Regions from separate parts of the Homo sapiens genome. Here regions 2, 3 and 4 are each linked to region 1. The links are contacts of gene promoters, found by promoter capture Hi-C in blood cells and fetal thymus (Javierre and others, 2016). All regions are on one chromosome and are shown on one strand. Each heading gives the region's core, a stretch centred on a gene start or on the middle of the fragment in contact. The rest is flanking DNA. Distances are from core to core; before and after follow the strand shown. Region 1 holds the start of LAMP2 (lysosomal associated membrane protein 2). Region 2 has its middle 9.4 kb from the start of ZBTB33. Region 3 overlaps TMEM255A (transmembrane protein 255A). Region 4 holds the start of C1GALT1C1 (C1GALT1 specific chaperone 1).

The links. Contacts are between HindIII fragments. The CHiCAGO score rates a contact against its expected background, and 5 or more counts as called.
Region 2: a contact is called between a fragment that was not itself captured here and the fragment with the promoter of LAMP2 in region 1, in 16 of 17 cell types (neutrophils, M0 macrophages, megakaryocytes and 13 more). The highest score is 8.7, in neutrophils.
Region 3: a contact is called between a fragment that was not itself captured here and the fragment with the promoter of LAMP2 in region 1, in 11 of 17 cell types (naive CD8 T cells, M0 macrophages, megakaryocytes and 8 more). The highest score is 9.7, in naive CD8 T cells.
Region 4: the fragment with the promoter of C1GALT1C1 here is called in contact with the fragment with the promoter of LAMP2 in region 1 in 3 of 17 cell types (neutrophils, monocytes and naive CD4 T cells); the score reaches 7.1 in neutrophils.

What each region holds. Positions count from the first base shown.
Region 1 is chrX:120,464,216-120,472,215 of GRCh38, forward strand. It overlaps LAMP2 (lysosomal associated membrane protein 2), which reads right to left and starts at 5,081. Exons shown (of 9, transcript NM_002294.3): 1 at 4,891-5,081. The coding sequence starts at 4,954. RefSeq lists a silencer at 5,019-5,283. The HindIII fragment of the contact is 7,034 bases long and covers 2,039-8,000 here.
Region 2 is chrX:120,237,419-120,245,418 of GRCh38, forward strand. It overlaps the pseudogene NKAPP1. Among named protein-coding and RNA genes, the nearest start is that of ZBTB33, 9.4 kb to the right of the region's middle. The HindIII fragment of the contact is 4,758 bases long and covers 1,550-6,307 here.
Region 3 is chrX:120,303,072-120,311,071 of GRCh38, forward strand. It overlaps TMEM255A (transmembrane protein 255A), which reads right to left. Exons shown (of 9, transcript NM_001104544.3): 2 at 1,278-1,420. Among named protein-coding and RNA genes, the nearest start is that of TMEM255A, 4.4 kb to the right of the region's middle. RefSeq lists an enhancer at 6,357-6,406. The HindIII fragment of the contact is 7,318 bases long and covers 646-7,963 here.
Region 4 is chrX:120,627,136-120,635,135 of GRCh38, forward strand. It overlaps C1GALT1C1 (C1GALT1 specific chaperone 1), which reads right to left and starts at 2,919. Exons shown (of 2, transcript NM_001011551.3): 1 at 2,782-2,919; 2 at 1-36. The coding sequence starts at 31. RefSeq lists an enhancer at 2,300-3,227 and a silencer at 2,887-3,156. The HindIII fragment of the contact is 14,165 bases long and covers 375-8,000 here.

The DNA of each region.
Region 1 (8,000 bases), core at 3,831-6,330:
AATTACTGTATAATTATCCGTACTGCTTAGCACTGATCTTGAAGTTTTCAATCCAAAAGAACTTCTTGCAAAACATCATTTAAAATTCATGGAAGAAAAAGGAGACTAAATGAGTCTAGTTTACCACCATATCCCTAGTGCCCACCAATGAATATCTTCAACAAAAATTCACTACGGGTTAACCATGTACCAGACCCTATGCTAGGTAGGCAATGGGAAGTAACAGTACATAAGATCGTCTCTGCTCTTAGAGACTGCTACCATAGGAGAGACTTGACTAAAACTAGGGGGAAACAAAAAAGCGTGGAAAATAGGCTAGTAACCTAAGATTTTGCAAATGATAAGATTTATTCCTATTTCCCCAGATGGTCACATGGCTGGCCTCCTGCCAACACCCAGGTCTCTGCCCAAATGTCACCCGATAACGGAAGGCCCTCTGACCACATAATATAAAGAAGGATCATCCACCATCACCCATTCCTATCATCTACTCATTCTCCTTTCTCATTACCTGTGTAATTTTCTTCATAGTGTTTTTGTTTTGTTTTGTTTTGAGACAGAGTTTTGCTCTTGTCCCCCAGGCTGGAGGACAGTGGCATGATCTCGGCTCACTGCAACTTCCACCTCCTGGATTCAAGCAATTCTCCTGCCTCAGCCTCCCGAGTAGCTGGGACTACAGGTGCTGGCCACCATGCCCTTGTATTTTTAGTAGAGATGGGGTTTCACCATGTTGGCTAGGCTGGTCTCGAACTCCTGACCTCAGGTGATTTGCCCACCTTGACCTCCCAAAGTGCTGGGATTACAGGCGTGAGCCACCATGCCCGGCCTCTTCATAGTGTTTATCACTATCTGACATTATATTATTTATCTGTTGAGCTTTCTTCTCCCATTAAAATGTAAGCTCCATGAGAGCAGGAACCTCATCTGTCTTATCCATTCCTCTGTCCCTTTCACCTAATATAGTGGCTGGGACACAATAGGCATTCAGTAAACGTGTGGAAGGGAGAGGCTCCTACCAGTAACATACACTAAGAATATTTCTGTGAGGTTTTTCCCACCCAGAAAAGCCTCAAACCTAAAAAAAAAAAATTCTGAACCCTAAAAAAACAAACAAACAAACCAAAAAACAGAAGTCAAGCTAGTTATAAGAATCAATAACCACAGAAGAATCCTGAAATCTATGATATCACAAAAGGACCATAATTAGGCAATTATATAAAGAAAGGATTTTCACCCACTATCCACTTTATAACACCTCTAAATCATATAGCTTCTCTTCGGAAAGTTGTCTGGTCAGTTACAATTCATCCAAATAAACACCAGCATAATTTAATCTCTATGAAAAAGACCAATATATAGCCTCTAAGAATCCTTTTCTGTACTTATTCTAAAGCTGCTGTTTTTAAAAGGTTATGGGTGAAGCTGGGATAGAGTTATAAAGTTACAAAGTCAAACTGGCACAGCTAGAGCACTAATGCTAATAAGACTATAAATTTAGGACAGGTCCTCCTTCATTGGCACTCCGTACAGTACCCAGGCACAGTTCTAGCTACATAGTAGGTACTTTACAAATATTTATTGATTTAGCTACATATTAGGTACTTTACAAATATTTATTAAGTTTTCAAAAACCTATTATTGGTATCCATTTTGATATAGAAAAGTAACTTGTGCAAAACCCACCAAGCAACTGCTAAATTCTTGACAGAAAAAGCTATATGGGAGGACTTTGGGCTCCACACTGAACCAAGAGCCATCAGAAAATGCAGCTGTATAGAAAAATGGTTTCTATTTCATCCTGGAACCTCTTAAAAATCAGATCTAGGTACATTATTAATATTTACTTTTCCAAATCCTGCTCTGAACTTGGAGGCGGAGGGAATCAATCTTGGAAATTTTCCAAGAGGAAGAATCTAGTTAGTCCTGATCAATAAATGGCAAACTAGCAGATGAGCTGATGGGTTCTTTTATGTGCTTCTTTTTGCATGTTTATTTTCTGCAGTGAGTAAGCATTGCTTTTGTAAAAACAAAACAAAAAAGCTTTCATTAAAAAACAAAAAAAAATTTAATGACATGAAAGCCAACAAGTAGGACAACTATTATTTTTTTCACTTTCCCAAAACAATAACAGTGTTGTATTTGTGCACAGATTCAATTGGCAGGGAACTACTGATTAACAGATGCCTTGGTCAGATGTGTTCTAGTCACTGATAAGGTACTTTCCATTGTAAACAATCCTTTCTTAGGGTCAGTTGGCCCTCAGTAAGTGCTCCAAGGTACAGTTAAGGCTTCCAATTAAGTATTCAAGCAAAGCCTGCCTCAAGGCCGCCTTTCAGAAGTGCTACAGAAGAGTTTCCTGCGCGCTGTGAACAGTTGGACTACATCAGGGATTCCCAAAGTTTTGGTGTCAGGACCCCTTTACTTTCTTATCCACTGAGGACTTCACAGAGGTTTATGTGAGTCATATGTATTGGTATTTACAGTATTAGAAATTAAAACTGAGAAATGAATAAAATATAAGAACATCAGAGTGGTGAGGTCATCACATGTTACGTAGCCACTGGAAAACTCTGCTGTACACTGGTGAGAGGATGAGAGTGAAAAGGACAAAGGACAAATAACTTCTTTTTTTTTTTTTTTTTTTGAGACAGAGTTTCGCTCATGTTGCCCAGGCTGGAATGCAGTGGCGCAATCTTGGCTCACCGCAACCTCCGCCTCCTGGGTTCAAGCGATTCTCCTGCCTCGGCCTCCCAAGTAGCTGGGATTACAGGCATGTGCCACGACACCGGCTAATTTTTCTATTTTTAGTAGAGACTGGGTTTCACCATGTTGGTCAGGCTGGTCTTGAACTCCTGATCTCAGGTGATCCGCCCGCCTCAGCCTCCCAAAGTGCTGGGATTACAGGCGTGAGCCACTGTGCCCAGCAGAAAAGGACAAATACCTTCTTAACCTTATTCCGAAGTTTTGATTTCACAGACGCATGAAAAGGTCCTCGAGAGTCACTGAATTAGATAATCAAGAACCCTTCCAATACTATGGTTTTCGAGCAGGATTTATCAATGTTGGCACCATTGACATTTTCAGGGAGATGATTCTTTGTTGTCAGGGGCTGCCCTGTGCTTAGTTAGGATGTTTAGCAGCATCCTTGGCCTCTACCCACTAGATGCTAAAAGCAATCCCCCAGTTGTTACAACCAAAAATGTCTCCAGATGTTGCCAAATGTCCCCTGGTTGAGAATCACTATTCCAGGGTGTTGATTTCATTCTACTGAAATGTGAATTACAAAATGTATACCTCTCACTGCTTTCTCAGACCCCTAATATGTCTATTTCTTCCCCACTCCCATCTGGGTCTGTTCTTTATGTTATTTTATTAAGTCACAAATAGCAAGAGCAGGTGGGTAGCAACAAGCACAGCATGAATCAAAGTCAGGAAGAGACACTTTAGTCAAAGTTCACTTTTAGGCATTAAAGTTGTTAGCGACCCACTGCCTATTAGGGCACAACACAATCAGCGAACATTCACCCAGCCATTTATTTATTGATTTATTTATTTTTATTTTTTGAGACAGAGTTTCACTCTTGTCGCCCAGGCTGGAGTGCAATGGCGCAATCTTGGCTCACTGCAACCTCCGCCTTCTGGGTTCAAGCGATTCTCCTGCCTCAGCCGCCCAAGCAGCTGGGATTACAGGCATGTGCCACGACGCCCGGCTAATTTTTGTATTTTTAGTAGAGACGGGGTTTCACCATGTTGGCCAGGCTGGTCTTGAATTCCTGACCTCAGGTGATACACCCACCTCGGCCTCCCAAAGTGCTGGGATTACAGGCATGAGCCACCACGCCCGGCCCCATCCAGCCATTCTTAGGCCCTGGTAACAACCCAATCCTTAGCAAGTTTGTCTACCTGCTCCCTGCACCCCCAAAATATGAGGTAATAGGCTAGCTGTGTGATGGGGAAGAAAGAAAAGAAGAAACTCTGAAGGCAAAGAGGTAGTCTACCAAACTCAAATACTCCACCCCCAAAACCTCACATCTGGGAGGCCCTCCTAACTGAAACGTCTGGGGATTTTTTTGTCAGCGTCTGGCTGGGAGGAAGTAGCAAAACTGGGAGAAAATCGACATCCTCAATACCTCCAAGTCAGATGTGCACTCCCCATCAAAGTTCCCCCTGAACCCCTTAGTCTCCAGAGGTTGGGTCCAAGTTTTCTTTCCTGGAAATTGCCCCAGCTACCTTAGGTTCCTTCGCCCTTAAAACTATGACTACCAAACTCAAACCCAGCATCACTCCTAATCTCTTGAATCATCCTTTCTTCACAGTCTCAAATTCCAACCTTCAAAATGCCCAACCCTGTCACTGCCCCTGCCCCTCAGGCTCTACTGTCCTATCTGTCCCATCTGTCCCCCACCCACACACTTCTCCCAAGCTACTCCAGGCAGGCATGGTCTTCTCTCTTAATTTCCTATCTCACCCCATAGTTTTTCCACCATCTTCAAAACTCTTCCCTGATCTCAGCAAACCAAGACTCTCCTAATTGTCTCTGGCGCCCAAAATCTGCATGTACCACCCTCCTACGCTCACTCCTCAGTGTTTTCCCCAAGTTACTCTTTCCACGCTGACCCTCTCCACGCTTCACTCCTCCCAGCCTACTCCCTCGGCGTCCACCCCCCGTTACCGGCCCCTTCTTACTCTCCTGGGCCCTTCTTCCCCGCCATCCGTCGGTCAGGCCTTCTCTAGGTCACCGCTTGCCTCCCCGGGCCAACCGCCGCCGCCCAGTGTTAGCTGCTGAGCCTCTCAACCCCCTCCCCCTCGGACCAGTCTTTCAGGTTGTAGCTTTGAACTGGTGCCCCGGGCCCAGGCGGACAGACTAATCGGGAGGGCCCGACAACTCACCCAGGACTAGGCAGACCAGAACGAGCCCTGAGCCCGGAACCGGGAAGAGGCGGAAGCACACCATGACCCCGCAGAGCAGGCGGCGACGGCGGCGACGGCGGCGGTACAACAACAGCTGCAACACCAGGGAAAAGGCTCGCTGGACCTGGGTCAAGAGCACTGATGACCACCGACCACAGCCTTGCAAAAGCCAGGAATCGGCGCTTCAGTGCGAGTCATAAGACTAGGGGCGGGGCTCTTTCTTGCTTACAGCCAATCTCCGCGCTTGAAAGCGGCGAGAGGGGTGGTGATGTAGCGGCCGGTGGGCGGGGCGACCACGCCCTGGCTTTTTGGTTCACAGCCCTTCCTATGCTCCTGAGAGATATGCGCGGACGGCATTTTCTTTTTCTTTTTCTTTCTTTTTTTTTTTTTTTTTTAATTTTACTTTAAGTTCTGGGATACATGTGCAGAATGTGCAGCTTTGTTACATAGGTATACATGTGCCATGGTGGTTTACTGCACCTATCAACCCGTCATCTAGGTTTTAAGCCCCACATGCATTAGGTATTTCTCCTAATGCTCTCCCTCCCCTTGGCCCCCACCCCTTGACAGGCCCCCGTGTGTGTTGTTCCCCTCCCTGTGTCCATGTGTTCTCATTGTTCAACTCCCACTTATGAGTGAGAACATGCAGTGTTTTGTTTTCTGTTCCTGTGTTAGTTTGCTAAGGATGATGGCTTCCAGCTTCATCCATGTCCCTGCAAAGGACATGATCTCATTTTTTTATGGCTGCATAGTATTCCATGGCATATATGTGCCACGTTTTCTTTATCTAGTCTATCATTGATGGGCATTTGGGTTGGTTCCAAGTCTTTGCTATTGTAAATAGTGCTGCAATAAACATACGTGTGCATGCGTCAAATGGTATTTCTGGTTCTAGATTTTTGAGGAATCGCCACACTGTCTGCCACAATAGTTGAACTAATTTACACTCCCACCAACAGTGTAAAAGCATTCCTATTTTTCCTCAGCCTCGCCAGCATCTATTGTTTCCTGATTTTTTAATAATCACCATTCTGACTGGCGTGAGATGGTATCTCATTGTGGTTTTGATTTGCCTTTCTCTAATGATCAGTGATAATGAGCTTTTTTTCATGTTTGTTGCTGCATAAATGTCTTTTTTTGAGAAGTGTCTGGTCATATCCTTTGCCCACTTTTTGATGGGGTTGTTTTTTTCTTGTAAATTTGTTTAAGGTCCTTGTAGATTCTGGATATTAGACCTTTGTCAGATGGGTAGATTGCAAAAATTTTCTCCCATTCTGCAGGTTGCCTGTTCACGCTAATGCTAATTTCTTTTGCTGTGCAGAAGTTCTTTTAATTAGATCCCATTTGTCAATTTTGACTTTTGTTGCGATTGCTTTTGGTGTTTTAGCCATGAGGTCTTTGCCCATGCCTATGGCGGACGGTATTTTCTAAGGCTAAGGAGAGAGGAGGAACTTTTGAGGGCCGTAGATAGTAGACTATTTCCGTTTTGGCTCCTTGACAAAGAAGAGAAAAATTTTGCGGGCACAAAAACGGTTGCTAGGCATCTCAAACGTAATACATACAAAAATAATACATGCTTATTCTCCAAACACTGTTGTTACCTATGCAGTTCATGCTGTGAGATGGACGAGGGAACCTAGGGGGTAGTATGGAGTCACGGACCATCGGAACAAGACATGATCTTGAAATTCACCTAGTTACAGCACCCTGTTCTCAGGTGGGGGAATTGAGCTCAGAAACAAGAAGCATCTTTTTTAAACACAGGAAGAAAAAAATGAGAGAAATAAAACAGAAGGATAAAGCGGAAAAATAGAGATCATCTGTATTCCTACTATTAACATTATTATATATATTTACACACATATATACACACACCCACATCTATACTTCCAGATATTTTTCCTATGTACATACACACAAATATTCTGTAATGAGTTCATACTAAGCATACTGTTTGCTATACTTGATAGATGAACAGACAAAACCTAAAATATTCAACAGATGAAAGCATTTAAAAATCTTGAGTTGGAATAAAGCACTGATTCTCAAGTGTTAGTTTCCAAAAGAACCATCTGGTTTTGGGTTTTTTTTTTTTAACATACAGATTCCTGTACCTCATTCCCCAGAGATTCTGAAACAGTAGGTCTGTGGCAGTCTTATTAATCACTTCTTTAACAAACACCCCAAGTGATTCTGATTCTGTGGTCCATGGACCACACTTTGAGAAAAACACTGAAAGAGAGCTTCAAAATCATCTAGTCCAGGAGATTTTAATCTGGAGTTTATGTATGAGTTTAGACAGGATGGGAGAGGTGTCGGTGAATCCTCAGAAATTACATGCAACATTTATGTATGTGTATTTTTGTGGGGAAGTTTGTAGTTTTCACTAGTTCTCCAATGGGACCTGTGACTCCTTGCCCTAACCCCTACCCTAATTCAAATATTAAGAAGCACCGATCTGCCCCACTATTGTTTGCTTTAATGTAATTAATTCCTGAAAGTGAGAACATTTGTCAATGAATGTTTACTACCATAGGTGAAACTAATTTGTGAACAAGTGACCCAACACAAGACTAATGAACACTGCATACAGTGTTAGTCATTGCCTTTAGCAAAATGTCTTTTGACTGCCATCAATGAGACTTGGCAGGAGCTATGTCCTGGGCATAGTAGTCTTCAGAGAACCCACAACTGAGTTGAGCCCTCTGAAGATGCCCCACCAATACTTCCTGGACTCTAGCTCTTCTCTTTCAATTGTAAATCGCATAACTTTAATGTTCAGTAAAACCCTAAGCTCTTTCTATAAGAAGAAACAAAAAAAGAACATAGTGGAAAGAACATTGGGTTAGCAGTCAGAGGAGTTGGTTGTGAGACACCACTTACTGGCAGTGTGATCTTAGGCAGGTCACTTCATCTGTTTGAACTTCTATATCTTTATTGGTAAAATGAAATAATGAGACTAGAGCTGTTTCTTGATCCTGGCTGCATGTTGGAATCACTTGTGGAGCTTTAAAAGTGGAAAATTCCCCTTGGTCCCATCCCTTGAGATTCTGATTCAGTTTATCTGAAGTCAGGCCTGGGCATGGTGT
Region 2 (8,000 bases), core at 2,679-5,178, 230 kb before region 1:
CTAGATTAATTGATCATCAAAAAGAAGCAGTCAGACCTTGGCTTTCTTTATGCTGTCTTCCTCATGTGAAACTGCTAGGCTAGAAAACAACAAAAATTTAAAAATGGAGTGTGATGAGAGTTGAGGAGTTATTGTTAATTTTTTTAGGCATGATAATGGTATTGTAGTTATGTTTTTAGAAAAAGAACGTGTATCTGATATGGTTTGGCTCTGTCCCCACCCAAATCTCATCTTGTATTATAATCCCCACATGTGGAGGGAGGGGTCTGGTGGGAGGTAATTGGATGGATGGGTTTCCCCCATGCTGTTGTCATGATACTGAGTGAGTTTTCATGAGAACTGGTTATCTGTAAAGTGTCTGGTGCTTCCCCCTTCTCACTCTCTCTTCTGCTCCCATGTCAGATGTGCCTTGCTTCCCCTTTGGCTTCCGCCATGATTGTAAATTTCCTGAGGCCTCCCAAGCCATACAGAACTATGAATCAATACCTCTTTTCTTTATAAATTACTCAGTCTCAAGTATGTCTTTATGGTGTGTGAAAACAGACTAATAAAGAAAACAGTCTTTTAGAGAAACATGCTGAATTGTTTATAAATGACATTATACCTGGGATTGGTTTCAAATTAATTAGGGGGCAATGGCAATTTCCCACAAGTTGTTAATTGTTCAAGCTGGGTGCTACGTGCCTGAGGGATCATTATACCATTCTATGTATGTTTATACACATTTGACCTTTTCCATAATAAAAATTAAAGGAAAAAATCTGGCCATCTGCATTTCTTTTCCTTTTTCTTAGCTGTCTTTGCTCTCATTTTTGTGTCTTCATCTGCAAATTAAAACACATTATAATTTTTAAAAAGTTACCTCTAAAACCTCAATACTTTTGAGTAAATAAATATGCTTTTGCTGTTTCTCATTTGTTGTTACAGAGAAATTTATTCATTCAAACATTTATTACTATTTGTCAAGAACTGTGCTAGGCACTGGGGATATATATATTATTAAAGTCACATTAGGTATTATATGATATAAGAAATTAATGTTAATTTTTTCATAAGTTAATGGTATTATGGTTAAGTAGGAAAATATCATTTTAAAGAGATACACAGAAATATTTTGTAGTGAAATGTGATGACATTTGTAATTTACTTTGAATACCTTAGTGAAAAATCCATATTTGAAGCAAACATGTCAAAATGCTAACAAATGTTAAACCTGAGTACTAAGGTATATAGTATTAATTATACTATTCCCTTTACTTTTCTGAACATTTGAAGATTTCCATGATAAAAAGGGAAAGAAAACTATGTGTGTGTTGGAGTGGGGAAGGAGAATGCTTTCTAGGAGCTCAGTCTAATGGAGGAGACAAATAGGTAAAGAGATTGATACAATCCAGAGTGACATAAGGAAGCTTGAGGTGCTCTGGACACACAGAGGAGTCTCAAAATCAGAACTGATTTGAGGAGGGGGGTTGAGGAATGGTTGACCAAGAAAGGTGGCTCTGAGAGTAGTTATTTGATTACAAAATCCATTGTTGCAATGAGTAAGCCAAGCTTGTTGGAAGAAGAGACTGGTATTGTAGGCAGAGGGCCTCTCTACCAAGCAATAGAGTCAAGAGAAAGAACATGGAATACTGAGGAGACAGAAAGCAGTTCTAGCCTAGGCAACACAGCATGACCTCATCTCTACAATTTTTTTTTTTTTTAATAGCTGGGCATGGTTGCGCATGCCTGTGGTCACAGCTACTCGGAAGGCTGAGGCAGGAGAATCACTGGAACCCTGGAGGTGGAGGTTGCAGTGAGCAGAGATCGAGCCACTGCCCTTCAGCCTGGGTGACAGAGGGAGGCCCTGAAAAAAAAAAGAAAGAAAAGGAAAAAGAAAGAAAGAAGAAGGCAGGCAGGCAGGCAGGCACGAAAGAAAAGAAAAGAAAGAGAAGAGAAGAGAAGAAAGAAAGAAGGAAAGAAAGAAAGGAAGAAAGAAAAAAAGTTTTCAGGCCACAGAGTATGGTGCAACAAAAAGTGACAGGGTATATGTGATTAGAGAAGGATCAGTCAGGGTCTGAACTTTACCCTGAGGGCTATGGAGAACTACTGAAGGATTTTGAGTATGGCACTGACATGCTTAGATGTGTGCTTTAAGAAAGTTTGGTTTTCCAGTGGCAAGGAAGTAAAGTGACATTGGGGACCAGGAAACTGGGGCAATATCAGAGGAAGCAGAGCCTTTGTGGAATATGCCAACCAAGAGAAAGCACCCTCTGGTCAATCATTAGACAGGAGAGGGCGTAAAAAAGGTGGCTTTTTGTGATGCACTACCCCAGATGGGGTGCCTTCCATAAATTGGCAGCCAGTCTAAAGGGAGTGCCTTTTTGAAAACTGTACAGCAGTGCCCACTGGGCACGAGAATTACACAAATGAGCCCTTCCACTGGGCTGATGCAGCCCTGTAAGGCTTACTTTGGTACAGCCCAATCCCCTGACTTGGTCTGGTGCCATGTGCTTTGTACAACTATGCACAACCAATCTGGAGTCAGATTGCTTAGGTTTGAATCCCAACTGTATGACCTTGGGGACAGTACTTATAATCTGCTCTGTCTCCATTTCCTCATCTATAAGATGTACCCAACAGTTATTTATGGATTAGATGGTAATAATGAATATAAAGCACTTATGGGGAATGCCTGGCACAAGGTTAGCAAGCGTTCAAAAACTCTTCAGTATTATTAGTGTTTTCAGGAACCTTCTTCTAAAATAAGTTTTAAGAAATAAAACTAGTTTTGAAGCAAGGCTTGCAGAATGCTGTTGGCTTTCTTACCACTGGAGTCTGTTTCAGAATCAGAGTCACTGTCGCTATCTTCAGAATACTTCTTGTGTTTTCTTTTTGATAAATTTTTCTTTCTTCCTTTCTTGGACCTTTCACTTGAATGACTAGACTACTATTTTTCTGTAAAAATATAAATAAAAAAGTAACTTCTAAAAAAGTATTTCTGATTATCAATTTTATTGCATTTGAAATACTGAAAAGGAATAGATGATAGGCAATTTGAATAAAAGTAAAGTCTAATGTTTAACTATTTATAAACTTTTTCTAACTTCTCAAGAAAGGTCTGTATCTTAAAAATACTTTCTGATGTAGAAACTGAAGTAGTGCATTTCTTTGGCTCTTCATTCTTTACTTCAATATGTTCAGCAGAGCTGAATTTAAAGAAAATGGTTATAAGAATTAGAAAAGTGATGAAATATGGACCATAGAGTATAAAAACACAGACTTAAAACTTTTCAGCAACAATGACAATTGTCCAAGAACCATTAAAAACAAGCATTGGACTTCTTTCATAAGAATACAGTTCATGTCTGTAATCCCGGCACTTTGGGAAGCCAAGGTGGGAGGATCACTTGAGCCCCAGAGTTCAAGACCAGCCTAGGCAAAATAGCAAGACCCCATCTATACAAAAAATTTAAAACATTAGCCAGGTATGGTGGTGCTTTCTTGTAGTCCCAGTTACTCAGGAGGCTGAGATGGGAGGATCACTTGAGCCTGGGATGTCAAGGCTGCAGTGAGCCATGATCATGCCATTGCACTCCAGCCTGGGTGACAGAGCAAGACTGCCTAAAAATAAAATAAAATAAAAAATAAATAAATACAGTTCAAGGGTCTGCCACCTTCATAATAATAAAATAACTTACATTTGCACAATGCTTTACAGATTACAAAGCACTACTCAAACTGAAAGCAGCATGGAGGATTTATATTTTCAGAAGAAATCACAGGCTAAAAATAGAGAAAACAGAATCAGAAGGAAAGATGAAAGAAACTGTATATAAAAAGTCTGAAGAAGATATCATAATTTTATTCTAAGCATGTAAAAAACAAATGGTAGAGCAGCAACTGTTCTGTCTCCTCAGAGCAAGAAGATCCTAAGAAGCTACAATCTAAAGAGATTTGGGGGACACATGTTCTCAGGACCTGAGGCTATGTCACGGTAAAAAATTGTGTGTGTGTGTGTGTGTGTGTGTGTGTGTGTGTGTGTGTATTTGTTTTGTTGCAGAGAATTCTTAAAATAAGTATTATTAAAGTTCTACAGTAGGCTTGGCGTGGTGGCTCATACTTATAATCTCAGCACTTTGGGAGGCCAAAGCACAAGAACAGCTTGAGCCCAGGAATTCAAGACCAGCCTGGGCAACATAGTGAGACCCTTCTGCACAAAAAATTTAAAAATTAGCTGGGTGTAGTGGTGTGCACCTGTATTCCCAGCTACTCGAGAGGCTGGGGCAGGAGGATCACTTGAGCTGGGAAGGTCAAGGCTGCAGTGAGCCATGATCGTGCCACTGCACTCTAGCCTGGGTGACAGAGTGAGACCCCGCATCAGAAAGAAAGAGAAAGAAAGCAAATAAATCAATAAATAAAGTTCTACAATACTTTAGAAAGGGACTTTCTATATTATATAATCTTTCCCTTTGAAGATCACATCTGCAATAATTTAGGTATTGCCTAGAAAATTATTTTTAGGGTTCCTTCTGACTCTAATTCTATGAGTTCAGGTCCTTTAAGCATTTACCAAGGGTATCTATAAGAATACACTTCAGATAATAATGTTTTATCACCTTGTCACAAATTACAGGTTTACCTGTGAAACACATTGCCTCAACTCAACCTAAACACAGAAATAGAGGAGAGGGAAGAAGAAACTTATGAGCAACACCAAAGAGAAAAGAAATAAGCAAAAAAAAAAAAGTACTAATATTTCACATAGTATTGGATACAGGAAAATTAACTAAACCGAACTACACTGGCATCTGCATTTTTTAAAAATCGCTGTGTAATACTATTGTCTGGAATGCAATCTGCTCCTGGGTTGAAGAAAAAAATCAAAATATAAATGTATTATCTGTTTTAACACTGAACTCCTCTATTAATAGGAAATTAGCACCCCATGAATACAATTTAAAGAAAACAATTAGCATGCTAAAATGCACTAGCAACATGTTTTAATTCTTAGGTATGTTAGACTCCCTTTAGTTCCTTTTTAAAAAAGAGTACCTTACCTATCTGTTCTTTGGAGGACACTAATTTTTTATTGTATTATAATGTTTGTCATTTATTGTTTTAATTTTTGCTGTTACTCATAAGCTGAAAAAAATAAACTAAGAGAGGTTCAATTTCCTCAAAGTTTAGCTGCTTACGTCTATAAAAATCCTTATAAAATAAATGTTTGATTTCATTGTTTGAATAAATATTTTTTACTTCTTTATTCAGGGAAAAGGTATTATAAGTATACAGAGTTAGTCTCAGAGGGTTTCCCATTTCAAGAGCAGGTAATCAAAAAGTAAACATACGTCTAACAGTTCTTGGAATATGAGTATAGGGACCAAGGATGCCTGCCAGACTATAAAGACACACAGTCTTTGTGGTGTGAGGCACAAAATTAAGGCCCAATATTGTGTACTACCTTGACAATTGGGGAAACCAGGAGGGCTCCCAATGGCCTTACTGCGAATTCTCCTCTCCATTCTGCTCCTGCAAATAAGGTCCCCTAGCCAAATGACCCTCCTTCTCAAAGAGACCAGACGCAGTTCCAGCTTATCTCTGGGTAGCAGATTTTAGTACATTGTCAGCTTGTGGAATTATTCAAACAAGCCAATCATATCCTTCCAAGGGAAAGCAGGTATTACCTCAATTTCTTGATACCACAAAGTCTACCTCCCACAGCCCCTGATTATTCACTGTCTTACCAACAGCAACCTCGGTGTGGCCCTTCGTGGCACGCTGTGTTCTCTCCCATTCCAGCTGTGAACATATGTGATTAATAAACTGCTGTTGATCTCATCTGTCCTGTGTTCAGCTACTCCATAACACAAAGGGTGGGAATCCTTCCCTCATCAACATGGTGAATAGCAGACAATTATAACACTCCCTGCTGCTACCTGGTTTTATCTGTGCCTTAAGATAAATTATTTATCTTCTATGTGCACAAATGCAAATTTTACCCAAGTTGTTCTTATATGTTTTGGTTAGGATTCTAAAATAAGAAGTTTTTTGATTGACACAAACTGGGAGGACCTTTCCATCCCAAAGGCAGGAGCGCTCCTCAGAGGACAGGTGCAGTAGTTTCACTCACCTCTCCCACATGGGCAAAAAATGTGTATCTGTAACCTAACTCAGGACTGTTTTTACTTCCTCTGCTCCCAGGCATGAAACTCTAATAACCAACACCTGTGAAATGCTTATTACGTTCAAGGCACTACATCATTACAATAACCCTAAAAACGTCAGTACTATTTGTATCCCCCTTTTACAGGTGAAAAAATAATGAAGCTTGGAGAGGTTACCAAGGTCACATAGGTATTAAGTAGCAAAGCAAGGCTTCAAACTCAGAAAGTCTCAATCCAGAGGCTGTCCTTCTCATCACTATGCTTTATTACATCCCACTAGTGGAAGAAAAAGACTCATCAAGACATCTCCCACCTGTTGGAATTTCAACCTACCCCTCAATACCTGTAATGTTTTAAAATTTCTCATTTTTTAACCGTAGTGCATGTAAGGCACTCAGTATAGTACCTGACACATTCAATAAACATTTGATATGAGTACTTACACAGCAATAATTATAATTATTTTCCTTCTCAAACCATCTACTTCCCACTCCAATATTCACTCTCATTAGAGGAAAACTCATCTCACTCTCCTCTCATTCTTCAAGGTCAAGATTGAGACCACTTAAGACCTTCCTGAAGGTAGCCACATCTGCAGTTTAGCACATCACTTTGCCTACATTCATCCAGTTATCTTGTCTCAGAGGAAGGTATTTCTCCTTTCCAATTTAAACCCTTAATCTCAACCCTTTCCAACTCCCTACAAGGAATTTCCACTTAGTTAGCCTGTTAGGATCTCAAACCGATCATTCACTCAACACACAACACTTTCAGTAGATTGAGCCCCTATTAAGTGCCAGGCACTGCAAATTCTGTAATGAATAAAATAGGGGTCCTCCTTTCCACGAGCTCAGTCTAGTGGAGAATAAAAATATGTTCACGAACGATAACACAAAACAAATAAATGCTATACGTAGGTCTGTGACCCTTAGCCGTGTCTGCTCCGAGATCAGAGGCGAAAGAGGGTGGAGGGAGACCGGGGCACCCTACAAAGGGGCCCAAGGATGAGTGAGAATGTGAGAGAGGAGAGGGGCGAACAAGGAGCTGTCGTGGATAGATTGCAGAAAAGGATGAAAATGGGCGCGGTGAAGGTAGAAGGAGCGAAATGCAAATGGTCAGAAGCGGGCTGAAAGATGAAGCGGACTCGCTGAAGGCAAGTGGGCTCCTTAGAGCGAAGGTGCAGCCATGATCTCACTCACCTCTGCCACGGATTCACCTCCCTCTCCTCGTCCCGTAGGAGCGTGAGTAGTTGCCGCAATAGGCGCAAGAGCAGGCAGAAGCGAAAGTGATGGTCCACGGCGCAGTCAGCCGCTCTTGAGAATGCGACCACAACTGGGAGCGGCAGGGCTGGTTTCGGGAGCCTTGGCTGAGCCCATTCCATTCCCCAGTCAGAGAACAAGAGTTCCAGTGAGAGTTGCGCCCCAGCGGGGAACGGGCGGCTTTGCTGGGCTTGGGGCTCTTGGACAAACTGCAACACATTCCCCCGCCCGGAGCCCGAGGCCTCCCTCTCGGCACTGCAGAACCGGACACCGGAGCTACTGCAGCCTCGAAAACGGGACATTCTCAGGAGCCTCAGCAGTATCCGTTGCCTTTGCTCCAAAAACCCAGCCCGCGCAACCGCTGGGAGCAAAGGAAACCATGGGAACTATTGCGAGTACGTTGGCAAAACATTTCCCCAGGTCTGTGTGGCCTCCGGCCAAGGTGAAGAGGTGTGTGTCTTGGTGTAAATAAACCGCTACTGCAACCGATTTCGCTCATCCTTTGGTTCCGCATTGAGGCTCGCCAGGGTCTAAATCCGCACAGAGACTAGGTCTTCCTTAGGCTTCTACTTGAAATAACTGAAGGGCAGGACGA
Region 3 (8,000 bases), core at 3,055-5,554, 160 kb before region 1:
TCTCACCTCTAGAGTTAGGTTTTTGGGTTCAACAGCAGTGTACGTAGACTCAAATTAGGTTTTGGTTTTTCTAATGCAACTAGTTTAGCAGTCTCCAAAGGGAACTGCATGCACCCTAGGGTAGATAAAACAATCCACTGGAATACGGCTGTTTCCTATTTATTGTTTATCTAAAATAATAAGAAACCAAACATTACTAATATTTAATAAACAGACTGTCACTGGCACCCTCTGTCCGTGTGAATGTCAGGTGATCAGGTGAACTATCCTTCTGGAGGAGGGCAAGTTCCAAGCAACAAACGGTTGATGGTGGGGCATTTTATGTGTGCCTGGATTGTATTATCCAATTTTAACGAAACTAGTCTCAACAAAATGGATAAGAGGCTTGAAAAGATTCCTCTTGAGAAACCAGAAGTTGAAGATGACCCTAATAATGTAAGCAAACGTAAGCAACAAGAAAATGGCAGAGTTTAATACTTCTAACTCCCAGGGTAGATTTTTGGCAGCCAAATTGTGATATTGACATTTAAAAACATGACTCCAATGACAGTCTAATCATATGGGATAAGAAGGCAGCCAAAAATATTCACAATTATCTAGTGGGCCATTTGAAATAAGGATTTAAAGCCACTGTCTTTAATGACAAGCTTCACACTAAGTGCATATTATCTGGTGACATTTTAGTTTGTGTTCACATGAAGATATTAAAAGTTATTGTATACTTATTTTTATCTAATTTTTGAATGTTCATTTTTATATAAGTTTTATGAACATGTATATATATAATTTATAAGTGAATAAATATACATATTTTAGGAACATATCTTCCACAGCTTTTTCTGATAGGAGTGCAGGATCACTTTGGAGATCAGTGCTGTTGGTCAGAGTGTCAAGCTGCCAGGATCCTCAGATTTCAGGTGAGATCAGATGACCTCTATTATATATGGGAATGCAGATGCCCGGAGAGAAAGGACCTTAGCCTAAGGTTAACACTGCTGGTAACATCTCCTAAACCAGAAACCTGAGGTATTAAAGAGTGAGATGACTTGCTCAGGATCACACTGTTAGATAGGGATGGTGCTGGATTCTTCTGATTCTCAGTCCAGTGCTCTTCTTAGCGGGCCCAGAGTTGCCTCTCCACATAAATATACAGAGATACAAAGGAGGAAATCTGAGCAAACACTAGACACTCAAACAGAATTGAAAACTATCAGAGCAGAGCCAGAATTTCTGTAGACAGCAAGCTACTGCGACCTACCTGTGCCTTCTATACTTACAATAACTCCGGGGTAATAACCTCCTACAGTCACATTCTGGGTCCTGGTGGTTGCAGCAAGGCCCACTGTGAGAATTAACACGGACACAATAAGCAAAGTCACGGTGACATAGATGGAGTTTCGTTTCCTCCGATTGAATGCTCCTGAAAGCACAGAGAGAAATTAAAATTGCTCATTTCAGCTGGGGAAAGGATTGACTTAAAGAAAAAAACACTAAGAAGGTTTTCCTTTCCTATTCCTACCGGTAACTGAAGTTATCTTTGGTGGTGACGGGTGGGGGGTTGTGGGGAAGGGATAGAGCATTATTTTTTGTAGTCATCAGGTGCCACTTTTATAATAAAATATGTATTTCCAATTTGAAAATAAACAACAGAAGAAATTTCACCAGTTACGTAAAAACAAAACGAATTTTTGTGCTCCTGGCACTCTGTAAGAGATGTGTCACAACTACTTAGTAGAGTGGTTTTTTAGACCAAATTAGAAGGCATATGATAAATGGGAAGTGTGTGTGTGGGGGAGGGGGTATTAAATGAAAACATTTTAAAGCCAATATCCAACTAAAAAGATTTTTTTCATAAGCTAGAGATATGAAATTTCATTTTCAGTGTAAATATCACAGCCAAGCCAAGTTACTGGGATTTTTTTTTCATTTATTTCTGACATTTGCCACCTCATGTATAAACTTTAAAATGGTGTATTGGCAAGATTTGTCACATAACAAATGTGTGTAATAAAGTGAGTGTTTGGAGGCCATTAGTCCACAAAGATATGTATCGGGGGAGTTAGGTGGGGAGGATTATAACTTATACACATTTAGGCTTATGTGAGGGTGACATAAACATAAATGATGAGAAACCCATTCTCCCACTCAGGGCTTATCAGACATGATAGTGCAAACCAATATTTTTTTGAAAACAGGATTATTAAGTCAGACAGAAAAATGGTATCTAGGCTCACTTTTTAATTTATTTTTTTTTAAAGGAACCGAGCACTGTCTCACACTCTGCAGGGATTTCTCAGGCATAGGGAGAGGGCCTTCAACAGGAAATAACCAGGGGAGAGTTACTACCTAGGAGTTCTCAAAAAAAAAAAAATAAGCAAATGAGAAGAGTCTAGCTCTCTAGTGGAGGTTTGGAGCATGAGGAGGATGAAGCAGTGAGGAGCCCTGATGGAGTCGCCCACCCACGTGGCTTGACTGTCATTTATGGCCCTAAAGAGATCACTTGAGTCTGTCCATAAGACCCTGTCATTCTGGGAGACCTCACTGCAGCCTCAGGAAGCAGTTGTTGAGAGAAGCCATGCAGACTGCTCCATGGGGAGGGAGGGGAGAGGGGATAGAGGGAGGGGAGAGGGGATGGAGGAAGGGGGACGAGGTCAAGGAAACGAAGCGAGACCCAGGAGGCAAGGTGGTGGTGAGACGGGAGGGGTTGTGGCTGGCCTTGCAGTCCACTGCAGATATCCCCTCCTGTATGGAAGAAAAGCACTGGGAGTATCACCCGGGCTTAACCCCACCATCCATCCTGTCTTCCCCAGTACTGTCCCTGCTGAAGTCTCCAAGGGAGGTGGGAGGGGCAGGCGGTCTCCCCTGACGTCAGCTTCGAAAATGAGGGATGTGACTCATCAGGGTCATTTCTAATATGGGACTAATCTAAGACTATTTTTCGTTGAAATGTAGAAGTGGTTTGAACGTTTATAGGCATCTACAATGCTAAAGCACCATGTCTCACCCTGGGGAAGAGGTAAGAAGAGTTGGCAAATGAGACTCATCTTTAAAGAGACCTGAGTCCAGCCTCCATGGGACAAAAACATAAAGGCCCACTAGAGACACCTGTAACATCGGGGCCCTTTCATGACAGGGCTATTAGGGATGCAAATGGGAGCTGACTAATGGTAAACACAGGAGCAAAGCCGGGAGCTCTGGACTGCATGGTACTGGGAAAGGAATAGTAGAGGGTTGGGGGAAGGCCAGGATTTATTTCTTCTGGTTACCTGAAGTTTAGTTATCCTTCCTCTTGATTTTGAGGGACCCTAAATTAGTCTCTAAACCAGGGTGCCTAAGTTTATTTGATGATAGATACTTCTCAGTGAATCTGTGAGTTGGTTCTACAGAGGGGCTCTAACATAAACTTACCAACATTGCCTCCCATTCTTGTCTTCCCTTCTCTTTTGTCACTCACACAATCTCTAGCCCTCCCCTGCCCCAAACTGGCAAAAGAGAGTGAGAGAACATTTGGATACACCACGGATATCTTTGTGATATGGAAGTGTCTCAACACCTTACCCAGAAAACATGTAACCTGACAGACTAAATTGGAGAAGTGTGTGTGCATGCATGGTCTTTTTAATTTTGGTTTGTTTGTTTGTTTGTTTCATTTGCCTGCTCCTTCCCCACCAGCTGGCCTTTAATCTTATTCACAGCTCTTGGGTCTTCTTTGCAAATATCACTCTAACTTTTAAAAGCGCAGGAAGAGCCAGGTCAGAAAAGTGACTCAGCAAACCACATAGTGTCATTTGAAAATCTTTTTTCCTGCTTTAGAACCTGAATTGAAAATTCAGTCACTTGAGCAACCCAGGCAAATATCCCACAGCCCCACAGGGGCCTTGACTCCAGATAGGATTTGCTTTGGATAAAATTCCTAAGAAAACTCTCTGATCACCAGGTCGAATATCTAATCTCTGTCCCCTCACGAGCGTCCTTCCCTGTCACCACTTATTTTATAAGGACCATAATTGTGTAACATGAAATTATTTCTAGTTGCACTTGGGGAATTGACTGTTTTAAGAAAACCCCCTCCCAGGGTGACTCGTTTTGAAAATGAAGAATCACCCCTCAATTTATCTTTAGTGTCAATTCGACTCAATAAAATTCACATCTACTTAGAGCAAGATATACCCATTTTCTGAAGGTGTGGCCCAGGCTCCTAAAAGGCAGTTTATTGTGTCTGCTTAGGACATTTTCCTGGTGGTTGTTTTATTTTAGAAGGGAGAAGTACAGCCGTGTTCTTATTCTGGTACAATTTGGGGCTTGCCTTAGATGTTTCTGTAAACACAGGACCATCTTATTCTGATTTTGTTTAGTAAAGTGACACGTAAAAAAACTCAGGCACCAGGAGGTACTTAAATAAAGCAGCAGGTATATGAAAATCATGCCTATTACGATTTATACCTAGTGTTTGATACCTAATAAACAATCGGTACTTGTTGAATAAACAAGAGGCAACATCTCAGAATTGTTTCCCTTTTAATCAAGAAGGATGTGGGAGGAATTGTGTGAATAAATATGGGCTAGTCTCATAGAATTGATTTTTTAATGTAGGGTACACCTGAGGGTTCCCTCAAATTAAAAGCCTTCTGGCTAACTAGTGTGAAAACTACAATATCTCTCACTACTCTGTCTCCTTGGCACCCAGTATATTTCTGCTTAAACAACAACCACCTCTGCAACCAACAGCAGTGAGAGAGTCTGAAATCTTTTCATTGGCCTTGCCTGCCCCTCCTCAGCAGCCTCCCTGCAGAACTACTGCAGCCCTCCCTCTCTGCAGTGCCCCACCTCCACCCCAGATTCCTGATGACCAGGATGCTTAGCTCTAGAAGCACCCAATTATTTGCTATCTCCACCCTTCCAAAAACAACCAGCTTTTCTCTCATCCGGGTATTCCCCCTGGTCAGAGCCCCCATCTGCATTGCGGTCTTTGAACCTGGGTGCCTCCCTTCCTTTGAAACATGCTCAAAATTCCCCTCCTCCAAAAAGTTTTTCTTGATCAAAATTAATCACTTATTCATGTCCCTAAATTCCCAGGTACCTTACTCAATAAGTATATTAATTGTAACTGGTACCATTACAATTGTAACCGTGGGTCTGGTCCACAACCCATATGATATCTGCCAGTCCCAGGATTGTGTATCTGAGGGAACCAAGATGTGAGTTGCTAGAAGGTAGGATGCTGTCTCTGTTACTTTGTTTTACCTTGCACACGTTCTTGATTATCCTCTCCCAAGAGAGTAGATAAGGTGTATAATCTTTATTGGGCACAGAAAAGTTGGGAACCCAGTATCCTGTCCTGTACACGGTGTTGTTGATGCCTGGCTAGTTCTCTGGGTTGATCTTTTGAACCGATTAGGATTTGCTTACCTGAGTCAGCTTTGCCACACAGGGTGGGTCCCCGGATATCCCAGCCTTGAGTATCCCTAGAAACAAGTGGCTGCCCACACAAGGGCCTCAAGACCCTGCCAATCTCCCAAACATTTCCTTAAAGGCGCTGAAATCCATCCCTCCCCACTTTAGACAGTTCTCTGAATGGAGAACATCCGAGGCCGCCCGCGAATTACAAATGTGTTATTTGGGAGGAAGGAATGCCCTACTGTAGTAGAGGTGCCTTTGCGCCTGGGGGCGGTGTTGCCAAAAGGGAGAAGGGGGTTGCTGGGAGGGGATGGGGGGACACTGGAGTCAAATTACCATCTTCTTAATTGCAAAGCGCCTGCTCCACTCTGAGCCTTGGACGCACTGCTCTATTCCCAGGCAGCCAGCAAGCGTAGAGTGCAGGCACCTTGGTGCAGTGTGTCTGCGTGTTTTAAATTTTATTGTTTTGGTTGCGGTTGTGTCTTGACAATAAAGGGAGTCCCCTCAGAAATGCTGCCCTTGGAGGCTGAAACACTAACCTACCTACCCACTGTCCTCTTCCCCCCACGCAAGGGAAGGTGGTGTTGCCAGAGCTAAGTGGGAGTAGCTCCTAAGTAGCCTAGACGCTGATTCAGGCCCGGACTGTGCGGGACCAGGGCCAGGGAACTCCGGGGAGACTCCCCTGTCCAAACTGTGGAAACCCAGCGTTAGCACTGGACTCAGGAATTTGCCAGTGCCGTCGGTCTGCGGACTTCAAAAAGTGGAATGCGTGGCGCCGGCTCCGCTTCTATCTGGGATTTATGATTCCTTTCCCGCAGTGTGGAGACTGGGCTGGGCGAAGCCCACTCAGCTGTTTGTTGCGCAGACCTTTCGAGAAACACAAGATCGCTGAGGGCCCCTGGGAGCCCAAGAAAGAAAGCTCTTCATCTTGTTCCCCAACCCACAGAGCAGTGCGCCAAGTAGCGACTCTTTAAGCCCTGGGCCACCAACCAGCCCACTCCCCGAAGGCAGACGGGCCCGGGGCGCTGTGGCTTGATTTGCAGGTGGTTAGGTGGTTGTCGTCCGCAGCGGGAATGGACGCTGCGGAACCCCAGCACTCTTCCACTCTGCCCTCCCTCGCGAAGCGCAACAGCTTGGCGTCGGGGAGCCAGGGCTGCGTTGTTGGCGCCACAGCTGGCCAAGGTAAGCAGTGCATTCCCACCTCTCTGTCTCTCTCTCTCTCGCTCTCGCTGTCGCTCTCTCTCGCTCTCGCGCTCTCTCTCTCTCCCTCTCCCTCTGTATGTGTGTGCGCGTGGTGTGTGTGTTGGAGAAAGAGTGCGCGCGCGCGAGCTGGGAGTAAGGGGGAGTCTGGTACTGCTGGGCTCGGGATTCGGACCAAGTCCTTGGCCTCATTTGTACCCCGTTGTAAATAACTACGCCCTTAAAAATGAAAAAGCAAATTCTTATACTGAATATGCAAAACCATTGAGGATACGGATCTTTCCACCATCCAGGAGATAACACTTTCTGGGGCCCCTCCGGTGAACGAGTTTTGTTGACACTGAGTCTTCTGCGGGCAGTAGGGAGATTATATAGGGGGTTCGATCTTCTCCCTGCCCCCTCCACTCGAGATGTTCCCGCAAATTCATCGGAGAAGACCTGAGCAGACTGATGGCAGGAACTGCGGGACAGAGGGATTTTGCAGAATGTAAAGTATGTTGGAAAGAGAGAATTCGATTTGATTGAAGTGTATCCGAGGCGAATTTTAAAAGATTAGGTGGGATCATGATTTTACAATCCCCTCCCGCTCTCCAGGGCTCCAAATTAATTTCTCCGCCCAGTGAAATCACAGGGCTTGGGAAGGTGCCTAACAGCTGAGGGGGACTGGGTTTGTTTTTTTTTGTAACTACCAAAAAGCAGCTTCGAGGGGCAGCCAAGTTGGTGCCCGAAGGTAGCTGTCCCCCAGTTTCTATAAGGAAAGGAGTCGAAGGGTGCCCCTCCCCCTCCATTCCGCCCTGCGAGGAAAAGCGCGACTTCAGAAGATGCGCGGGCTCGCGCTGGATGTTTCTTTCTCGCGCTCTCACTCCTGCCCCTGACTCCCTTTTCACACTCATGCACATTCCGTGCATTTGGAGCAGAGTAACAATCAAATTCAAAGAATGTTGATCCCGCCGCTGCAGAGGGCAGGGCTGGGCTGTCTTGAGTGATTCCTCAGGAATTCCCCTCCCCTCATCCCCCCCTTTCTTCTCACCCCCGCCCATCCCCCAGAGTTGCGCAACCCGCCCCCCCCCCCCAATCAGCGAGGTGCAAGTCAGGCCCCCACCCAACTGCATCTCTAAATTTCAGGGCAGCTTCAAGAGAGTTGGGAGGGGGCGAGGACCCTGCTTCTAATTGTCGTTAGTCGTGAGCTCTTAGAAGTGACCAGGACTTTGCAAAGAGGGAGTGTCGAATGGAAAGCGAAGGCGCAGGTTGCAGGGAAGTGTTTTGATCCTCAGATTGCTGGGATTTACCACCGACTGCAAGTCTGTAGACACACGCACACAAACAGGCACACACCCGCACTCCGGGGCAGAGATACTCCGACGCAAGCTTGGCGCTCCGATCTCCGCACGTCGCTCCCGCTG
Region 4 (8,000 bases), core at 1,669-4,168, 160 kb after region 1:
CCTTCAAAAAGGAGCTGCTTTCAGAAAGCATTTTTCCTATAAAGAAGAAAAAGACTCTTAAAATACTTAATAGAAAAAGATTAGTCTATAAATTTGATTTGGTATTCCTTATATACTTACATTTTGCTTTTAATGTTTTTTTTAAAAGGTTCCCAAGCTTGAAATCAAGTTAGTTGCATATAGTACAAAAGGCTCTCAAAATCTTTAGCTTCCAATGGAATCTGATTACTGTTTGGTATAAACTGGAACTTTGCAACAACTCCTCTATGGAGAAGTTTGTTTTGCACTTCATCTATGGGGATTTAATAAACCCTTGAAACCAGTGTTACAGAGGTTATCCATCCACCATTCTCTTTAAAGAATTTCACATCACAAGCTTGCATTATTTAAATACCTCTAAAAATATAGTGAACTTTTACACCAAAACCTTGGGTTGAACAGATAAAACCACCTATAAATGGCAAATCACCAATGGTATTGTGCTGACATTTCTGTTCTCAACATAGTGCTTTCTTTAACTGATGGCTGCTGTCCTTAAGTGTTTTGAGTAAATCTAAACCAAGTTTCTTGAGAATAACACCATATAGGTTAATATTTACCCTTTTGTTCCTAAAACTAAATGGTTTCCAATACAGTATCCCAACTATTGATGTAATAGAAGCCCATAATAAAAAGTTACATCTTTTGGATCAAAAAGGAATATTGATAGATATATCTGGGGCCCATTAATAAACATTTTCATTTCCTCAAAAGGAATTTTCTTCTTCTTTGGGGAAGTAAAAATGGAAAAATTTACACTTTTATTTCAATTAGAAATTAAGAGGCAGGTGCAGTGGCTCATGGCTGTTATCTCAGCACTTTGGGAGGCTGAGGTGGGTGGATCCCTTGAGTTCAGGAGTTCGAGACCAGCCTGGGCAACATGGTGAAACCTTGTCTCTACCCAAAATCCAAAAAATTAGCCAGACGTGGTGGTGGGTGCCTGTAATCCCAGCTACTCGGGAGGCTGAGGCACAAGAGTCTCTTGAACTTGGGAAGCGGAGGCTGTAGTGAGCTGTGATCTCACCACGGCACTCCAGCCAGGGCATCAGAGTGAGACTCTGTCTCAGAAAAAATAAATAAATAAAAGAAATTAAAAGCTGACATTAAATAAACTTGTTGAAAAAAATTGTATGTTAACCATTTATTCTAGTAAAGGCTGAATTTTCCAATCTTCCCTCCATCTTCAGAAAAAAGCAATCTATTGAGCTACTTAGACTTCCCAGTTTTCTCTTATGGTTGAAAGGAGCCTTAGAAAACTACCCAATGTCAGTCACTTCTCTCATTTTACAGAGAGGAAATGGAAGTCCACAGAGGTTAAATAACTGACTCAGTCACACAGTTAGACAGTGGTATAAGTGGACTAGAAACCACATTTCTCAATATCAGTTTAATGGTTTTTTTCCATTACAGAAGAATAATTGCCATAGTGCTTCTACCACATTAGAGTTTAATAAATGGGTTACTGAATATCCTTGTTTTCATACAAATGGGAAAAAAGTGGGATCTGTTGACCATAACTGATATTTTGCACCCAACAGCACCATATTGCTACAAGGAAACCACTCCTGTGGTTTTCTGCTAGAGGAAATGGAATTTTGACTTCTACCAGAAAGACAAGGTGTGGAATAGCTTGGCAGATGTAATTTCTGAGCGGTGGGTGGGGCAAGAGGCAGGAAGACTTTCCTGTGTCACTCACAGAACTTGGTCAATAAACACAGTTCCAAGAAGAGAAGTGACAGAAAACAAGCTCGGCATAATATTAGAATTGTCGGCTGTGTGCGGTGGCTCACGCCTGTAATCCCAGCACTTTGGGAGGCCGAGGCAGGTGGATCACCTGAGGTAGGGAGTTCAAGACCAGCCTGGCCAACATGGTGAGACCCTGTCTCGACTAAAAATACAAAAATTAGCCGGGCATGGTGGCATATGACTGTAATCCCAGCTACTCAGGAGGCTGAGGCAGGAGAATTGCTTGAACCCGGGAGGCGGAGGTTGCAGGCAGTGAGCCAAGATCGCACCACAGCACTCCGGCCTGGGCAACAAGAGCGAGACTCTGTTTCAAAAAAAAAAAAGAAAGAAAGAAAGAAAAAAGAAAAAGAATTGTCAGGTGCACTCTAAGATTAATTTATATAGGATTTTTGTATTTCATGTCACGCAGTTTTCATTATTTCTGGCCAATACATAATTCACATGTTTCTTTGCTCAATTATGGCATATGTGTCAGAATTCTTCCTGATGGTGATCCTACTCCTGGCTGCAAAAATAGTGATCAAAACTCAGTAAGTCTACACATTTTAAATAAAATAATTTGCAAAAATTATTCTAAGGAGATTTTTTCCCCATCACAGAGGCAAAAAATATAACACTAGGGATGCATATGATAGGATACTTTGTGCAGAAGGAAACAAAACTGCACACGAGCACAAATGAAACAGAAACTACCCCAATGGTTTTTAGATGAACCTTTTTGGGTGAAGGTAGTTGGGGTGAAGTACGGAAAACGAAGACGAAATAGGGAAGAGAAGTGAGAGGGAGGACATGGTAACCTCGATATCCCTCTGAGGGACCAAGAGAGCGCCCCCAGGAAGAAGACTCTCGGTCTCCTGTGCTGACAATCCTCCCGCTGCACCTGCCCAAGCATCCCGCGTGGAGCATGCTGGGAGAGGGCTGGGGCCCAGGCCTCCCCCAAGAGAGGGAGGGGAGTCAGGGTGCGCTTGGGGTGGGGGTCGAGGCCCCGCCACTCACCCGCGTCTAGAACGGCTTGGGGACAGGAAAGCGCAGCCGCGCACGGGTTTCCTCTCACGTTGGCGCACCACTCCGTTACGCTCCTGACCAGGCTGTTCTAGCTGCAGGCGGTGTTCTCTCGTTGGTCTCGCTAAAGGTGGGGAGCGCCAGGAAACGAGCGCCGCGAAGGCGGGGGTAGTGGGGCGGGGTAAAGGAGCCGGCGGCTGGGCGGAGCCGTCCGTTTGCCCGCCCGCGCAGGCGTCGGAAGGGCCGGCGCGCCCGCTGCGCGCACACTGCGTGCCCTTTCTCCCCGCCCCCTGCCGAGTTCAGAGACTTGCTATAGGCCTGCGTGACCCGGACGCTCTCCTTTACCCAACGGGCGTCCAGAGAAGAGGCCGTGCGTACGACTCGCTGACACCTCCCATTTCACCTTCCTGGCATGGAAATTGCGAGAGCGAGAGATTCTTGCTCCCGGTGTCGCTTTTTATCAGACCTCTTGATGGTTTCTCTGATGTACCCCTGCGTCCTTGAACCCTCATATTGCCCACCCCCCCAGTACTCCTGGGCTGAGACCAAAACGCAAGCCACTGAAATAGTCACGTAATTATGACACCAACGGTTTCCTATTATTACTGGAATGAGATCTGAAGCCCCACTGCCTGGAATCCAATCCTGTCTTCACCACACCTTTTGATATCCCAGGAAAGTTATTTCACCTCGCTGTGCCTCAGTTCCCTCATTTGTAAAGTACAGAAAATGTCACAGTAGTGCCTATTTCATAGAAAATTAGATGAGATAGTGCATATGACTCCCTTAGCAAAATTTCAAGCCTAGAGTAAGCATTTACTAAAAAGTACTGGCTGTTATTATTCACCCCAGTATTTCTAGTACTTAACCACAGTGCCAGCACGCAGTGGACAGTAAATATTAGTGGAATTAATGAATATTAGAACTACAGCTGAGGAACCAGGCCTAAAAAGGATAAGGAAATTTCAAAAGTCCACACAGCAAGTTAATGGCAGAGGTGGGACTGGAATCCAGGTCTCTTTTTTTTTTTTTTTTGAGACGGAGTTTCACTCTTGTTGCCCAGGCTGGAGTGCAATGGCACGATCTCGGCTCACTGCAACCTCTGCCTCCCGGGTTCAAGCGATTCTTCTACCTCAGCCTCCCTAGCAGCTGGGATTACAGACGCCCGCCACCACGCCCGGCTAATTTTTGTATTATTAGTAGAGACGGGGTTGGCCAGGCTGGTCTTGAATTCCTGACCTCAGGTGATCCACCCGCCTCGGCCTCCCAAAGTGCTGGGATTACAGGCTTGAGCCACTGCGCACGGCCCCCAGGTCTTCTAATTAAGAGTGCAGAGCTCTCTTTCCACGAAATATTTGATGTGTCTCTTTTTTTTTTTTTTTTTTTTGAGACCGAGTTTCGTTCTTTTTGCCCAGGCTGGAGTGCAATGGCGGGATCTCGGTTCACTGCAGCCTCTGCCTCCCGGGTTCAAGTGATTCTCCTGCCTCAGCCTCCCTAGTGGCTAGGATTACAGGTGTGCGCCACCACGTCTGGTTATTATTATTTTTTTTTTTAGTAGAGACGGGGTTTCGCCGTGTTGGCCAGGCTGGTCTCGAACTCCTGACCTCAGGTGTTCCACCCGCCTCGGCCTTCCACAGTGCTGGGATTACAGGTGTGAGCCACCGATCTGTCTTTTAAAATTCATTTTTGGCCAGGCGCAGTGGCTCACGCCTGTAATCCCAAAACTGTGGGAGGCCGAGGCAGGTGGATCACCTGAGGTCAGGAGATCAAGACCATCCTGGCTAACACGGTGAAACCCTGTCTCTACTAAAAATACAAAAAATTAGCCGGGCGCGGTGGCATGCGCCTGTAGTCCCAGCTACTCGGGAGGCTGAGGCAGGAGAATGCCGTGAACCCGGGAGGCGGAGCTTGCAGTGAGCCGAGATAGCGCCACTGCAGTCTGGCCTGGGCGAAAGAGCGAGACTCCGAGGCGGGCGGATCACGAGGTCAGGAGATCGAGACCATCCTGGCTAACACAGTGAAACCCCGTCTCTACTAAAAATACAAAAAATTAGCCGGGCGAGGTGGCGGGCGCCTGTAGTCCCAGCTACTCGGGAGGCTGAGGCAGGAGAATGGCGTGAACCCCGGGGCAGAGCCTGCAGTGAGCCCAGATAGCGCCACTGCACTCCAGCCTGGGCGACAGAACGAGACTCCATCTCAAAAAAAAAAAATAAAATAAAATAAAATAAAATAAAATAAAATAAAATAAAAATTAGTCGGGCGTGGTGGCTCATGCTTGTAATCCCAGCTACTCGGGAGGCTGAGGCAGAAGAATTGCTTGAACCTGGGAGGTGGAGGTTGCAGTGAGCCGAGATCGTGCCACTGCACTCCAGCCTGGGAGAGTGAGCAAGACTCCATCTCAAAAAAAAAAAAAAAATTCATTTTTGTGGCAGAAGGCTTTTTGCTAAAAAGCCCAAATTTTTACAATTATTTAAAGTGTATTGTTACTAGGTTCCATTAAGATAAAATTGAGTGGTGACTTACTCGGGCCTGAGTTCCTAAAGACACACATGTATTTGAGTGTTGTCAGTGACCTAGTTTAAGTAGACTGAAGGTTTCAGGGAACTCTGAAACAATGAACAAATATATTGTAGGTAGTTACTATCCTGGCAACACTATCTTAAAATCTGGAGATACAGTGGTGAGCAAAATAAGTACCCTGACTTCATGGAGCTGTCAGTCAAGTGGGGAAGAAAGACATTAAACAATTTATTACAAATAATTATAATGGTGGTATGTTTTCTAAAGGAATACCAAAATGAATTTTATTTCTGACAGTGGGCCCGCTGGAAAAGAAAAAATGAATTTTAGAACTGGAAAAGAATTTAAGACCGTGGAATATTTTCATTATATTTTGTTAAGTAATATAGTCTATTTCACATATTATATAAAATATATATGTATGTATGTATATATACCTATATAGTTAAGTGAAACAAATTGCAGAATACTGCATATTATATGATTATGTTTTGGTGGAAACAAACGTGCACATAGGTTTGATCTGTTCGTATGAACAAAGAGAGTTATGGAAGAATACTCAGCAAGCTCTTAATATTGATTACATCAGGAGGTTGAGGTGGGGATGATTAGCTTTGTCTTTATACATCCTTGTATTGCATTGTTTCACTGGTTATAAACAAGCACCTATTTTGAATTTGAAGACCAGCAAATAAAAGGACCTTAAAATTACAGGGACAAAAAGAAAAAAAAGAAAAGATACCAATAAAAATATCTTTTAAAGAATGCAGAGAACCACTCTGTCCTCGCAAAAAGGGACCAGGAAGGACAGAAATGACACTCAGAATTCAGACTGTGATGAAGAGGCAATATAAAATGTTTCTCCTAGAAAATAAGGGCACCTATTTGAGATGATGAATATGTTCATTAGCTTGATTGTGGTAATCATTTCACAGTGTATACATATAGCAAATCATCACATTGTGCACTTTAATTGTATACATTTATTTGTCAAACATACCTCAATAAAGCTGGAAAAAAATAAAATGATTCTTCTTTTAGTATAGAAAAGTACTGTATACCAAACTGGAAGTATTAATAATATAAGAGCAGCGCTTCTTATAGTGGTTGGTAATTTTAAAAAATATTATTTAAAAAATGACACAAGAGACCAGGCATGGTGGCTCACACCTGTAATCCCAGCACTTTGGGAGGCCGAGGCAGGCGGATCACCTGAGGTCAGGAGATCGAGACCATCCTGGCTAACACGGTGAAACCCCGTCTCTACTAAAAATACAAAAAATTAGCCAGGCGTGGTGGCGCACGCCTGTAATCCCAGCTACTTGGAAGGCTGAGGCAGGAGAATCGCTTGAAACTGGGAAGCGGAGATTGTAGTGAGCCGAGATCATGCCATTGCACTGCAGCTTGGGTGACAGAGCGAGACTCCGTCTCACACACACACACACAAAATTGACATAAGATGCTCTGAGACAGAATAAACCATGGGATTTTCAACACCAAAAGCTCTGTTAATAAGAAATTGTCTAAGAACCCAGTTCTTTACTTGACAAATAACTTACATATACTTAGCATTTTAAATAAAGTTAGTGAGATGATTGACTTATGGCTTTTTTTTTTTTTTGAGACAGAGTCTCACTCTGTCACTCAGGCTGGAGTGCAGTGATGTGATCTTGGCTCACTGTAACCTCCATCTCCCAGGTTCAAGTAATTCTCCTGTCTCAGCCTCTCGAGCAGCTGGGACTACAGGCGCATGCCACCACGCCTGGCTAATTTTTGTATTTTTAGTAGAAACAGGGTTTCACTACATTGGTCAGGCTGGTCTCCAACTCTCAACCTCAGGTGATCCACCTGCCTTGGCCTCCCAAAGTGCTGAGATTACAGGCGTGAACCACCACGCCCAGCCAGTAATGGCGTTTTTTTTAAAACAACATTCCATATCTCAGCCTTAATTTAAAAAACATGTGCAATTAGTATCTATTAAAATTAAGATGTTCATACTTTTTGGCCCAGCAAACCCATTCTAGTGATCTCTCCCACAGAAATAGGGGCAAATGCATTATTGTTTTTCTGTTTTTGTTTTTGTTTTTGTTTTTTGTTTTTGTTTAGAGACAGGGTCTCACTCTGACACCCAGGCTGGAGTGTAGTGGTGCAATCATGGCTCACTACAGCCTCCAACTCCTAGGCTCAAGCAATCCTCCTGCCTCAGCCTTCCAAATATGGGGTCTACAGGCAGGCACCACCACCCTGGATAATGTTTTGTAGAGACAGGGGCTTGCTGTGTTGCCCAGGCTGGTCTTGAGCTCTGGCCTCAAGTAATTCTCCAGCCTCGGACTCACAAAGTGCTGAGATTACAGGCGTATGCCACTGTGTCAAGCCAGCAGTTTTTTTTTTTTTTTTAACTTTCATTTTAGGTTAAGGGGTAATGTGCAGGTTTGTTATATAGGTAAACTGCATGTCTTGGGGGTTTGGCATACAAATTATTTTGTCACCCAGGTAATAAGCATAGTTCCCAATAGTTAGTTTTTTAATCTTCTCCTTCTCCCACCCTCCACGCTCAAGTAATCTCTGGTGTCTGTTGTTCCCCTCTTTGTGTCATGTGTTCTCATTGTTTAACTCTCACTTATAAATGAGAGTGCGGGTGTGGTGGCTCACGCCTGTAATCCCAGCACTTTGGGAGGCCAAAGCGGGCAGAT